3 separate regions of the Homo sapiens genome follow, and all the other regions are linked to region 2. Evidence: promoter capture Hi-C in 16 types of primary human blood cells and fetal thymus (Javierre and others, 2016). All regions are on one chromosome and are shown on one strand. Each heading gives the region's core, a stretch centred on a gene start or on the middle of the fragment in contact. The rest is flanking DNA. Distances are from core to core; before and after follow the strand shown.

The links. Contacts are between HindIII fragments. The CHiCAGO score rates a contact against its expected background, and 5 or more counts as called.
Region 1: a contact is called between a fragment that was not itself captured here and the fragment with the promoter of ANKRD29 in region 2, in 1 of 17 cell types (M1 macrophages). The highest score is 5.2, in M1 macrophages.
Region 3: a contact is called between a fragment that was not itself captured here and the fragment with the promoter of ANKRD29 in region 2, in 4 of 17 cell types (M1 macrophages, M0 macrophages, M2 macrophages and 1 more). The highest score is 7.0, in M1 macrophages.

What each region holds. Positions count from the first base shown.
Region 1 is chr18:23,906,498-23,909,861 of GRCh38, forward strand. LAMA3 (laminin subunit alpha 3) reads left to right here. Exons shown (of 75, transcript NM_198129.4): 53 at 1,053-1,169; 54 at 1,259-1,438; 55 at 2,656-2,798. Among named protein-coding and RNA genes, the nearest start is that of LINC02958, 74 kb to the right of the region's middle. The HindIII fragment of the contact is 6,258 bases long and covers 1-3,364 here.
Region 2 is chr18:23,661,299-23,664,721 of GRCh38, forward strand. ANKRD29 (ankyrin repeat domain 29) reads right to left here and starts at 1,613. Exons shown (of 10, transcript NM_173505.4): 1 at 1,412-1,613. The coding sequence starts at 1,432. The HindIII fragment of the contact is 8,557 bases long and covers 1-1,969 here.
Region 3 is chr18:23,801,342-23,805,064 of GRCh38, forward strand. All of the region lies in intron 12 of LAMA3 (laminin subunit alpha 3), which reads left to right. Among named protein-coding and RNA genes, the nearest start is that of LAMA3, 110 kb to the left of the region's middle. The HindIII fragment of the contact is 4,878 bases long and covers 1-3,723 here.

The sequences.
Region 1 (3,364 bases), core at 581-3,080, 250 kb after region 2:
TGTTTCTTGTGTTTCTCCAGGCTCTTGTTGTCATCCATGAGTCCAAGGCCCTCATTCAGCCTCTTAGTCCTTTCAGAGGGATTAAATGATGCCTCTGTAAATTAAATAATTTCTCTCCTTTCTGCTTCCTTCTTTTCCTTCCTTCTTTCTTTCTCTCTTTCCTTCACATGTTAAAAAATTAAAGACATGAAAAATAAAATACCAAAAAAGTACTAACATACAATCATTTGCCTTGCAAATTTCAATAATTTGGATTTCCTGGTATGACATCTATTTCTCTCTACAAAATTTGAGCTTCGAGGTAGGCTCAGTGTGCTAAACAGGGTTAGGATGCTAACTATGTTGCTATGTAAACCAGTCCTGGAATCGTAATTGAAGCCATGAATCATCAAGATGGTCTTAAAGCATTTGCTGGTCATTTTTGATGACCCAAGGATGGCAATATTATCAGCTAGGAATGTCTGCTAGCTCCCTTTCTTTCACAGAATTTTTAAAATGTGTCATTTTGGAAATTAACAGAAACAAACAGTGCCTACTTTGTGTCTGTATTTGCCTGGATGAGGCTCTTTCAACAACACTCTTTTCTTGTCCTCTGATGGAAGAGGATCCTTTCTACATTATTAATTCATTCATTCACTCATGTATTCATTTACTCAACAAACATATACTAATATTACGCCTCAACTAGTGCCAGACACTACATTATGTGGTAGGACATGGTAGTGGATAAGACAGATGCATCTTTTACTAAACAGAGTCTCTTACTCTGAGCAGTTAAGAAGTTTAGCCTTCCCCAAGTTATTCAGCCTCTTTCTTTCTTCCTGTGTATTTCCAAGGCATTACCACAAGGCTCTGATTTGCTGCTGACCTCTGTAACTGGAGGATCCCAGAGCTGTGGGTCTGGGCACATGCAGTGGGCATCTCTGAGGTGACCCCTAAGAAGCAAGTCTACTCAATGCTGTGCAGACACTGGCTACTTCAGGGGCCACAAATACCAATGGAGGATCAAAATGCACAAAGTAATTGCCTCCTGATGCTTTATTTTATTTTAGAAGTCAGTCCAGCTCTCAACAACCTACAGCAAACCCTGAATATTGTGACAGTTCAGAAAGAAGTGATAGACACCAATCTCACAACTCTCCGAGATGGTCTTCATGGGATACAGAGAGGTCAGCATCTTCCTAATCCATTGTACTCGGTTGGCTTCTTTTGTTGAACGTTTTAGATACTTATACCTCCCTATCTGTGTGTGCATTAGGTGATATTGATGCTATGATCAGTAGTGCAAAGAGCATGGTCAGAAAGGCCAACGACATCACAGATGAGGTTCTGGATGGGCTCAACCCCATCCAGACAGATGTGGAAAGAATTAAGGACACCTATGGGAGGACACAGAACGAAGACTTCAAAAAGGCTCTGACTGATGCAGATAACTCGGGTATCAGGCGATCTCTGGCCAGGACATCTTAGCCATTCTCTCCATTGTTATGTGTTTTGGTCCATTTCCATTCTTCCCTGGTAAAGTCTGATCTCAGAAACTAAAACATTAGAAAACAGCTCCACCTGATACAGGATATATTCAAAGCGTATAGATATCCTGCTAGTTGGAAGGACCAGACAGGATTTTTAATTTTTAGAAAATACATTGAAAATGCTATTGGTTTGCTTTTTTACAAAGTGGAGATATATGTTTCTAAATCATGAGGCATTGAATTATGATTGATATTAAGAATCAGAAAACAGGCTGTGTTTTCTGTGCGCTGTGGCTCATGCCTGTAATCCCAGCACTTTGGGAGGCCGAGGTGGGTGGATCACGAGGTCAGGAGATCGAGACCATCCTGGCTAACATGGTGAAATCCTGTCTCTACTAAAAATACAAAAAATTAGCCAGGCGTGGTGATGGGCGCCTGTAGTCCCAGCTACTCGGGAGGCTGAGGCAGGAGAATGGCGTGATCCTGGGAGGTGGAGGTTGCAGTGAGCTGAAATTGCACCACTGCACTCCAGCCTGGACGACAGAGCGAGACTCCATCTCAAACAAAAAAAAAAAAAAAAAAAGGAAAGAAAGAAAGAAAAAGAATCAGAAAACAAAGGTTTTTTTTTTTCTTTCTGTAGTGGTCAAAGTAAAGGATTTGGTACCTAGATTGCAGAATACAATTCACCATGTACAGTAGTTCCTCCTTATCCTCAGGGGATATGTTCCAAGACCCCTACTGGGTGTGTGAACCCACAGATAGTACCAAACCCTATATATACTATGTTTTTTCGATCTGATAACCCAGACAGCTACTAAGTGACTAATGGGTGGGTAGGGTAGACAGCAAGGATATGCTGGAAAAAAGGAAGATTCACATGGGTGGGACCATATGAGATTTCGTCATGCTATTCCAAACAGCACCCAATTCAAAACTTATGAATTGCTTATTTCTGGAATTTTTCTTTTTTAATATTTTTGGACCATGGTTGATAGCAAGTACTTGAAACCTTGGGAAGTGAAACCATGGGTAAGGGGGGAACTACCGTAACTAATTATGACCCATCCTGTTCAACATCTGGGGACCAAACATGCCACTTGACAAATACTGTCAGTAAGAACATTTGTAGTTAGCCTTTTCTTAATGCACAATCTTACATTTCTATTTTTTTTCTCACCAACAGTGAATAAGTTAACCAACAAACTACCTGATCTTTGGCGCAAGATTGAAAGTATCAACCAACAGCTGTTGCCCTTGGGAAACATCTCTGACAACATGGACAGAATACGAGAACTAATTCAGCAGGCCAGAGATGCTGCCAGTAAGGTGAGTGTGTCCCCACGTGGTCAGTGGCCAAGGCTAGTTCTTTAATGAGTTATCACATTTATCAAGAAAGAAAAAAACACTTATTTACTCAAGAATTGGTTGTCTTTCTTTCCCCAATTCTTGTGTTGCTTGAATATAAAGATTGATTTTCTCCTGTCATCCTTTACAAGTGTACATGACCTTCATCCTTACATTATCTGGTATATCAGGATCCTGAAGCAATTTGCCCCCATTGAGTTTATTCAGGCAGAAAGAAGGATTTTCTTCCAGGCCCCAGTTTGTAAACTGTAATTGCACATTCAAGGGAGGGTTCTGTGGTCAGAATGTGCCAGTGTGATACTGCACAGGACCTACCCTCCTATTGTAACTTGAAAGTTGTAGAATCCATCTTTGCTGAGGATGGAGGATTTAAGATGACAGCAGTTTTCCATCATTGGAGTACTGATTCACCAGCCTTTCTTGTTTTAACCTGACATTATTTGCTTGAATTACTGACACTTGTCTCTTGAGATTTGTTTTGTCCTAAAATGGCATAAATACAATTTCTTATATTTTCCAATAACTCC
Region 2 (3,423 bases), core at 363-2,862:
TCTGTCTAATCAACATCTCTGCTTGGATTCCCATCTATCCTCAAAATTTATCCCAAACCAAACGTTTTATCTTTATCTCTCTTGCCTTCCCTACTGAATTATGCCGATTTAAAACTTTTAAAGTCGGCCGGGCGTAGTGGCTCACGCCTTTAACCCCAGCACTTTGGGAGGCCAAGGAGGGTGGATCACCTGAGGTCAGGAGTTCGAGACCAGCCTCGCCAACATGGCAGAACCCCGTCTCTACTAAAAATACGAAAAAATTAGCTGGGCATGGTGGCGCACGCCTGTAATCCCAGCTACTCTGGAGGGTAAGGAAGGAGAAATAGCTTGAACCCGGGAGGCGGAAGTTGCAGTGAGCTGAGATCACACCATTGCACTCCAGCCTGGGCAACAAGAGCAAAACTCCGTCTCAGGAAAAAAAACTTTAAAGTCATTCACATTCGTCTGCTTCGTTCCATTCTCACCACCTATGCACTGGTCCAGTACCATTTCTTAAAAAGATGACAACATCTTCCAGCTCCAACCCTCTTCTCCAAACCTAGCCAGAGATCTTTGCAACATGCACATCTCGCCATGTCACTCCTCTGCTTACATGAGCTATTGTCGGCAACGGGATTACAGTGGCTTAGGAGTCAGACACACTTGGGTTTCAGTCTTAACACCATAACTTATTGGCTGCAAAACCGTGGGTGAGTTAATTTCTCTATATCTTAGTTTTCTCATTTGAAAAAAAAAAAAAAAAGAGCCACGAAGAGCACCTCCCACAGGTCTCCCCCAGGGTTGAGACCATACACACCATGTCCTTGGTTCAGAGTCAGGCACATTTGAACTGTTTAATACATTTTAACTGCTATTTTTATTAAACCCTTTCAATCGAGGCAAATCAACCTCTTTCATCCTAAAATGTGGGGATTAGATGGAATGACTTTAATCAACTCTTTTGAGACAAGACACCTTTGGACCCTGAAGCCTCCCTGGGTGCTGGCCACCCCTCCGGGGAGGAGGCATCCGTGGGTGCAGCTGGTACTCCTGCATGAGGACCCAGAGGGTCAGGGTCGGGGACTCCTTCTGCTGCAGGACAGCGCTGACCCCAGGCTTCTTACCCGCCCCCGACCTGTTACCCGGCGACAGTCCCCGCCGCCCCGTCGCCGGGCACAGACTCAGCCGATCCACAGCCATGAGTGCGAAGCCTCTCAGGCAGGGCAGGCAGGCAAACCGCAAACCCACAGGGCGCACCCAGCCCCGCCGCTTCCTCCCGGGCCTCGCCCGCAGCTGGAGGAGAGAGGAAGGAGGAGGCGGCGGGCAGCGGGCAGCGCCCACCCCATCCCACCCCATCCCACCCCACCCGACCCCGCGGGCCCGGCCGCCCGAGCCCGGCCCCAGCCCTGACCCCGGAGTCCCGGTCGCTCACCTTGAAGGACATCCTGCACATGTCCGCGGCCGCCCGAGCGGGAGCCGGCGCGCTTTGGGCCCGGGGCGCCTTGTCCTCCCCGGCCCTTCACTCTCCCGGGGCTCTCGGCGTTCCGCAGAGGGGCGGCCTCCGACGCCGCGCGCTCCCGCCGCCCGGCCCGGCAGCAGCCGCCGCACACAGGGCCGGGCCGAAGGGGCGGCGCGGGGGCGCGCGCGCGCGCACACTACACATGGGGTGTCGCGTGGACGCGCTCCAGGACCTGCCACACACGCGCGTGCACAAACACCCCAAACTCCGCACGCACTGTGCACTTTCCACACACGTCCACACTTCCACACTCACTCGTCCACACACACACTCCAAACTCCACACACATTGTGCATACGCTCCACATTCCACACACACAGAGGTTCCACACACATACTTTCCACACTCACGCCCACTCACCCGCATGTACTCACACACAAACTCCATACATATCCTCCCAAATAGACTGGTCTGCCCCAGAGGACTCCCAACCTTCATTACAGCACAAATATTATAATGATGTAAAAATGAAGCTTGAGGAAAAAATTCATCCAATAGCTATTTTCGTTATAATTTCTTTCTCGGTTTCCTGGGAAACTTTTTTCTCCTGGGGAAAATATCTAGGAAACAAACCTTTTGATTGCACAAACAATAAGTGGTCTTTTCCTCTTTGAAGGGCAAAGGCCAATTTTGGAATAGACTCATACCCCTCCTCCTCCTCCGCGTTATTAATCCAGCAGTTCCCTCCTCCTCTGGGTCTGATGCTGCAGCCCTGGAGTATTGCAGTATGTGTGTCCACTCCTGCTGCCTGCCCAGGATTGGTTTGGGCGAAGTAAAACTGGGAGTTTTAAGTATAAACGGCAACAACAGCTCTTTGAGAGCATTTTAGAAAAGTGAAAGTAAAAAAGTAGCCCAGGCATAGTGGCTCACGCCTATAATCCCAACTCTTTGGGAGGCCAAAGGCGGGCAGATCACTTGAGTCCAGGAGTTCGAGATCAGACTGGCCAACATGGCAAAACTCTATCTCTACTAAAAATACAAAAATTAGCCAGGCGTGGTGGTGCGCACCTGTAGTCCCAGCTACTCGGGAGGCTGAGGTGGGAGGATCGCTTGAACCTGGGAGGTTGAGGCTGCAGTGAGCCAAGATTCGGTCACTGCACTCCAGCCTGGGCAACAGAGCAAGACTCTGCCTCAAAAATAAAAATAAAAACAAAACAAAAAAATAGTATAAAAATGGAGGTCTTACCCCCTCAAACTATAAGAATCCACTCATTCATTCTCCCCCTCCTTCCCTCTTCTCAATTAAATTTGTAACGAATATTTAATTTAAAAGGTAGAAAACAATTACAAATAAAAGTTAATGATAAAAATTAAAATGTTTAACCTTCATGGATAAATTGTATTACTTTGTGCTTAAAACAACTTTAAATTAAAAACATTCTGAACTTTTATAGAAAATTCCAATTTTAAAAATAAGGACTCTAAACATTTTCCTTGCCTTGAGTGCCTATAAATGACACAGTTTTTAAGTTGCCACACAACGTTATTATATAAAAATCAAGCATCAGAGGTTTTGCTTTAATAGTTTTTTGTTTGTTTGTTTGTTTTTTCTTCTCAGATGGAGTTTCGCTCTTTTGCCCAGGCTGAAGTGAAGTGGCATGATCCTGGCTCACTGCAACCTCCACCCCCCGGGTTCAAGCAATTCTCCTGCCTCAGCCTCTCGAGTAGCTGGTATTATAGGCTCCTGTCACCGTGCCCAGCTAATTTTTGTATTTTTAGTAGAGACAGGGTTTCGCCATGTTGGCCAGGCTGGTCTCGAACTACTGACCTCAGGTGATCCACCTGGTTCGGCCTCCCAAGGTGCTAGGATTACAAACGTGAGCCACCGCGCCTGGTCTGCTTTAATAGTTTTGATAAATAAAAGGGAGAAAGGAAAGAACTAATATTTTGAGTGTTTTCTAGGTACAAGGTGCTTTCCTTATAAA
Region 3 (3,723 bases), core at 598-3,097, 140 kb after region 2:
AGGTACTATGCTCAGTACCTGGGCGATTTTTTGGTTTCATACACCAAACCTCAGCAACACTCAGTTTACCCATATAACTAACAAACCTACACATGTACCCTCTGAACCTAAATTAAAAGTTGAAAAAAAATGTTACCTGCATTTTAGAGCCTAAAAACCTCCATGGGGGCACAGGTGTCCCTTTCATATACAAATTCCCTTTTCTTTGGATAGATACTCAGTAGTGAGATGGCTAGATTGTATGGTAGTTCTACTTTTAGTTTTTAAAGAAACCTCCATACTGTTTTCCATAATCGCCGTACCAATTTACATTCCCACTAATAATGTATAATAGTTTCCTTTTCTTCACATCCTTTCCAGCATTTGCTATTTTTGGTCTTTTTGATGATAGCCATTCTAACGGAGATGATATCTCATTGTGGGTTTGATTTTCATTTCCCTGATGATTAGTGATGTTGAACATTTTTTCGTATACTTGTTGGCCTTTTGTATGTCTTCTTTTTAGAAATGTCTATTTATATCCTTTGCCCACTTTTAAATCACATTATTTGATTTTTTGCTGTTCAGTTGGAAAACAAAGATTTTTGTTTTACATACATATAACATACGCATATACAGAAAAAACATATTCATAACAAAATAGGAAGAAATACTCACTACAATTACAAATACTAATTTCTGTAACAGGTCACATGGTCATAGCTGGTATAAGTTGAGCATCCCAAATACAAAAATCCAAAATGCTCCCGCATCCAGAACTTTTTGAGTGCTGACACGATGCTCAAAACAAATACTCATTGGAAAATTTTGGATTTTGAATATTCAAATTTGAGATGCCCAATCAGGTATAATGCAAATATTCCAAAATCTGAAAAAATAAAAAATCTAAAACATGTTTGGTCCCAGCATTTCGGATAAGGGATACTCAAACTGTATTTGTAACTACCTTCTTCTGCCACCCATTCCATATTCCCTTTGCCCTCAGCAAGCACCTCATGGTTCTTTACCTGGTGAAGTGACACAAATCTTCATTCTTGAAGGGTCTAGGACATCAGTAGTCTTGCCTGAATTGGGTTGTAGTTTTCCATTGACTTTAATCACAAGACATGGTAATACTAAGAGACACCTTAAGTCATCTCCTGTATTCTAGACATATTCTTCCTTACCTCCATTTTTGAAGAACAGTTCATTTTCCCCTTGGTAATTAGTGGAACACAATTGCTTCTATCTTCATCTGTTGATTCAGAGGAATGAGGAAACCATGTAGCAGTCTTAACTTCCAGTTCAATAGAATGATCGTCACGTCTCCTGGTAGAAGCATTTCTTCCTCTGGAACTAAGACCTCTCGACCACCAGAGCAGAAGGCAGCTGGGATTGGAAGCTAGTTGATTACTAGGGTTTATAGTGAGTGATGCCACTCCCATTTCTACCTCTTGATTCCTGAACTCGTGAATCTTGGCTATCAGAGAAACCATATGTTGTACAATGATTCAGAGCAGATACTGCTTTCTGGAGAAACTTGCCTCAGCCCCGCAAGGTACTGCCACCTAGTAGTTTTCACCTACAGTGAAAACTCACTGTAACTGAGTTTTCAAAAGGCCATTCCACTGTTGTATTAAGCCACCTGTTCAGGATGGTGGGGAAAGTGGTGAGATTAGTGAATTCCATGACCATGGGCTCACTGCTGCATTCCATTTGTTGTGAAGCGAGTTCTTTGATCAGAAGCAATACTATGTGGATACTATGACAGTAAATAAAGCATTCTGTAAGTCTACAAATGTAGTTTTGACAGAAGCATTGCATGCAGAGAAGGAATTTCTGTATCCAAGTAAGTGTCCATTCCAATAAGAACAAAACACTTCCCCTTCCATGATAGGACAGTTCAAAGTAATTAACCTGCCACCAGGTAGCCAGCTGATTACCCTGGAGAATGGTGCCATATTGAGGACTTGGTATTGGTCTCTGCTGCTCGCAGACTGGGAACTCAGCTGTGGTGAGTGGAAGTACATTTTGCTGAGCCCAGGGATAAACTCCATCCCTGCCCCCATGGCTACTTTGTTATGAGCCCACTGGACAATGATAGAAGTGGATGGGACAGAGGCTGCCGGGTATCCACAGAACAGATCCTCCTGTCTACTTGGGAAGCATTCACCTAGGACATGTTTCTTAGCCATTTAGAGAGGGTTTTCACTCAGACCCTTCCCCAGATCTTCCTGTCACCAATTTTCCAATCATGTTCCTTCAAAGTCCCTGGCCATCCAGTCAAAGAATTGGCCACAGCCCATTAATCAATATGTAATTTCACATCTGGCCATTTCTCCTTCCAAGCAAAGTGAACAACCAGCACACTGCTCAAAGTTCTCCCTACTGGGAGGATTTCCCTTCACCACTGTCCTTCAGGATGTCCCAGAAAGGCACAAATGTGCTGCAGCTGTCCACTTTCAGGTGATGCCTCCATATCTTGCAATACCTGGTCTAAAACAGGCCTAAGTTTTCTCTTTCTTTGTTAACTGATCACAAGGAACTCACCATAATGCTGTAGATGTGGAATGTAGCAGGAGTGTGGAGTGTGGCGTTCTTTGCATAGCTTACTTGTGTAGAGGCTGCTTGGATCCAATCTTATGTATACCACTTCCATTTGATGACGGAATGCTGCTGTGCTTGCCCAACTTATGGCTTCGTGGGTCAGATAACACCCAGTTCATAATGGTCAGCTCACATCACATAGTGACTTCATGGCCCATGGTTAAGCCTTCTGTCTCTACTAAGACCCAGTAGAAAGTGAAAAGCTGTTTCTCAAAAAAAAGTTATCTGCAGAGGATGGCTTATATGTAGACGGTGGCAGGACTTTGCTCCAAAATCCTAAGGGTCTGCACTGTCGTTCACTTATGTGGGCCTGCTGAAGGCTCCAAAAAGCATCCCTATCTGCCACTGACACTTAAAAGCACCATTAGATCTGCTCAGTCATATGCTTTAAGTGGCAGAACAGCTTACACAGCAGCCTGGACCTGCTGCAGAGCCTTCCCTTGTTCTGGGACTCACACTACTGGACCCTTAGAAATTTAACTGAGGTAGAAGACTCTGGATGTTTTATTGCATTTAATTTTTACCTCCTGACACCCAAATGTCTTACCAATAAGTCTAGAGTAGTTGCTACTTCTTGTTCACTAGCTCCAATTAGCATAATGTCCTCAATGTAATAGACCGATGTGATGCCTTATGGAAGGGAAAGGTGATCAAGATCCCTGTGACCTAAATTATGACACAGGACCAGAGTTGATAGACCCCTGATGTAGGACAGTGATATAGTTTGGATGTTTGCCCCCTCCAAACCTCGTGTTGAAATCTGATCCCCAATGTTGTAGGTGGGGCCTGGTGGGAGGTGTTTGGATCATGGAGATGGATCCTTCATGAATGGCTTAGTATTGTCCTCCTGATAGTGGGTGAGATCTCTCTCTGAGTTCACTTGAGATCTGGTTGTTTAAAAGTGTGTGATACCTCCCCCTACCTTGCTTCTGTTCTTGCTATGTGATGTACTGGCTCCCCTTTACCTTCTGCCATGGGTTGTAAGTTCCCTGAGACCCTCACCAGAAGCAGATGCTGGCACCATGCTTCCTGTACAGCTTGCAAAACTATGCCAATTAAATTTCTTTTCTTCATAAATTACCTAGCCCCAGGTATTTCTTTATAGCAACATAAAAATAGCCTAATACAGACAGTGAA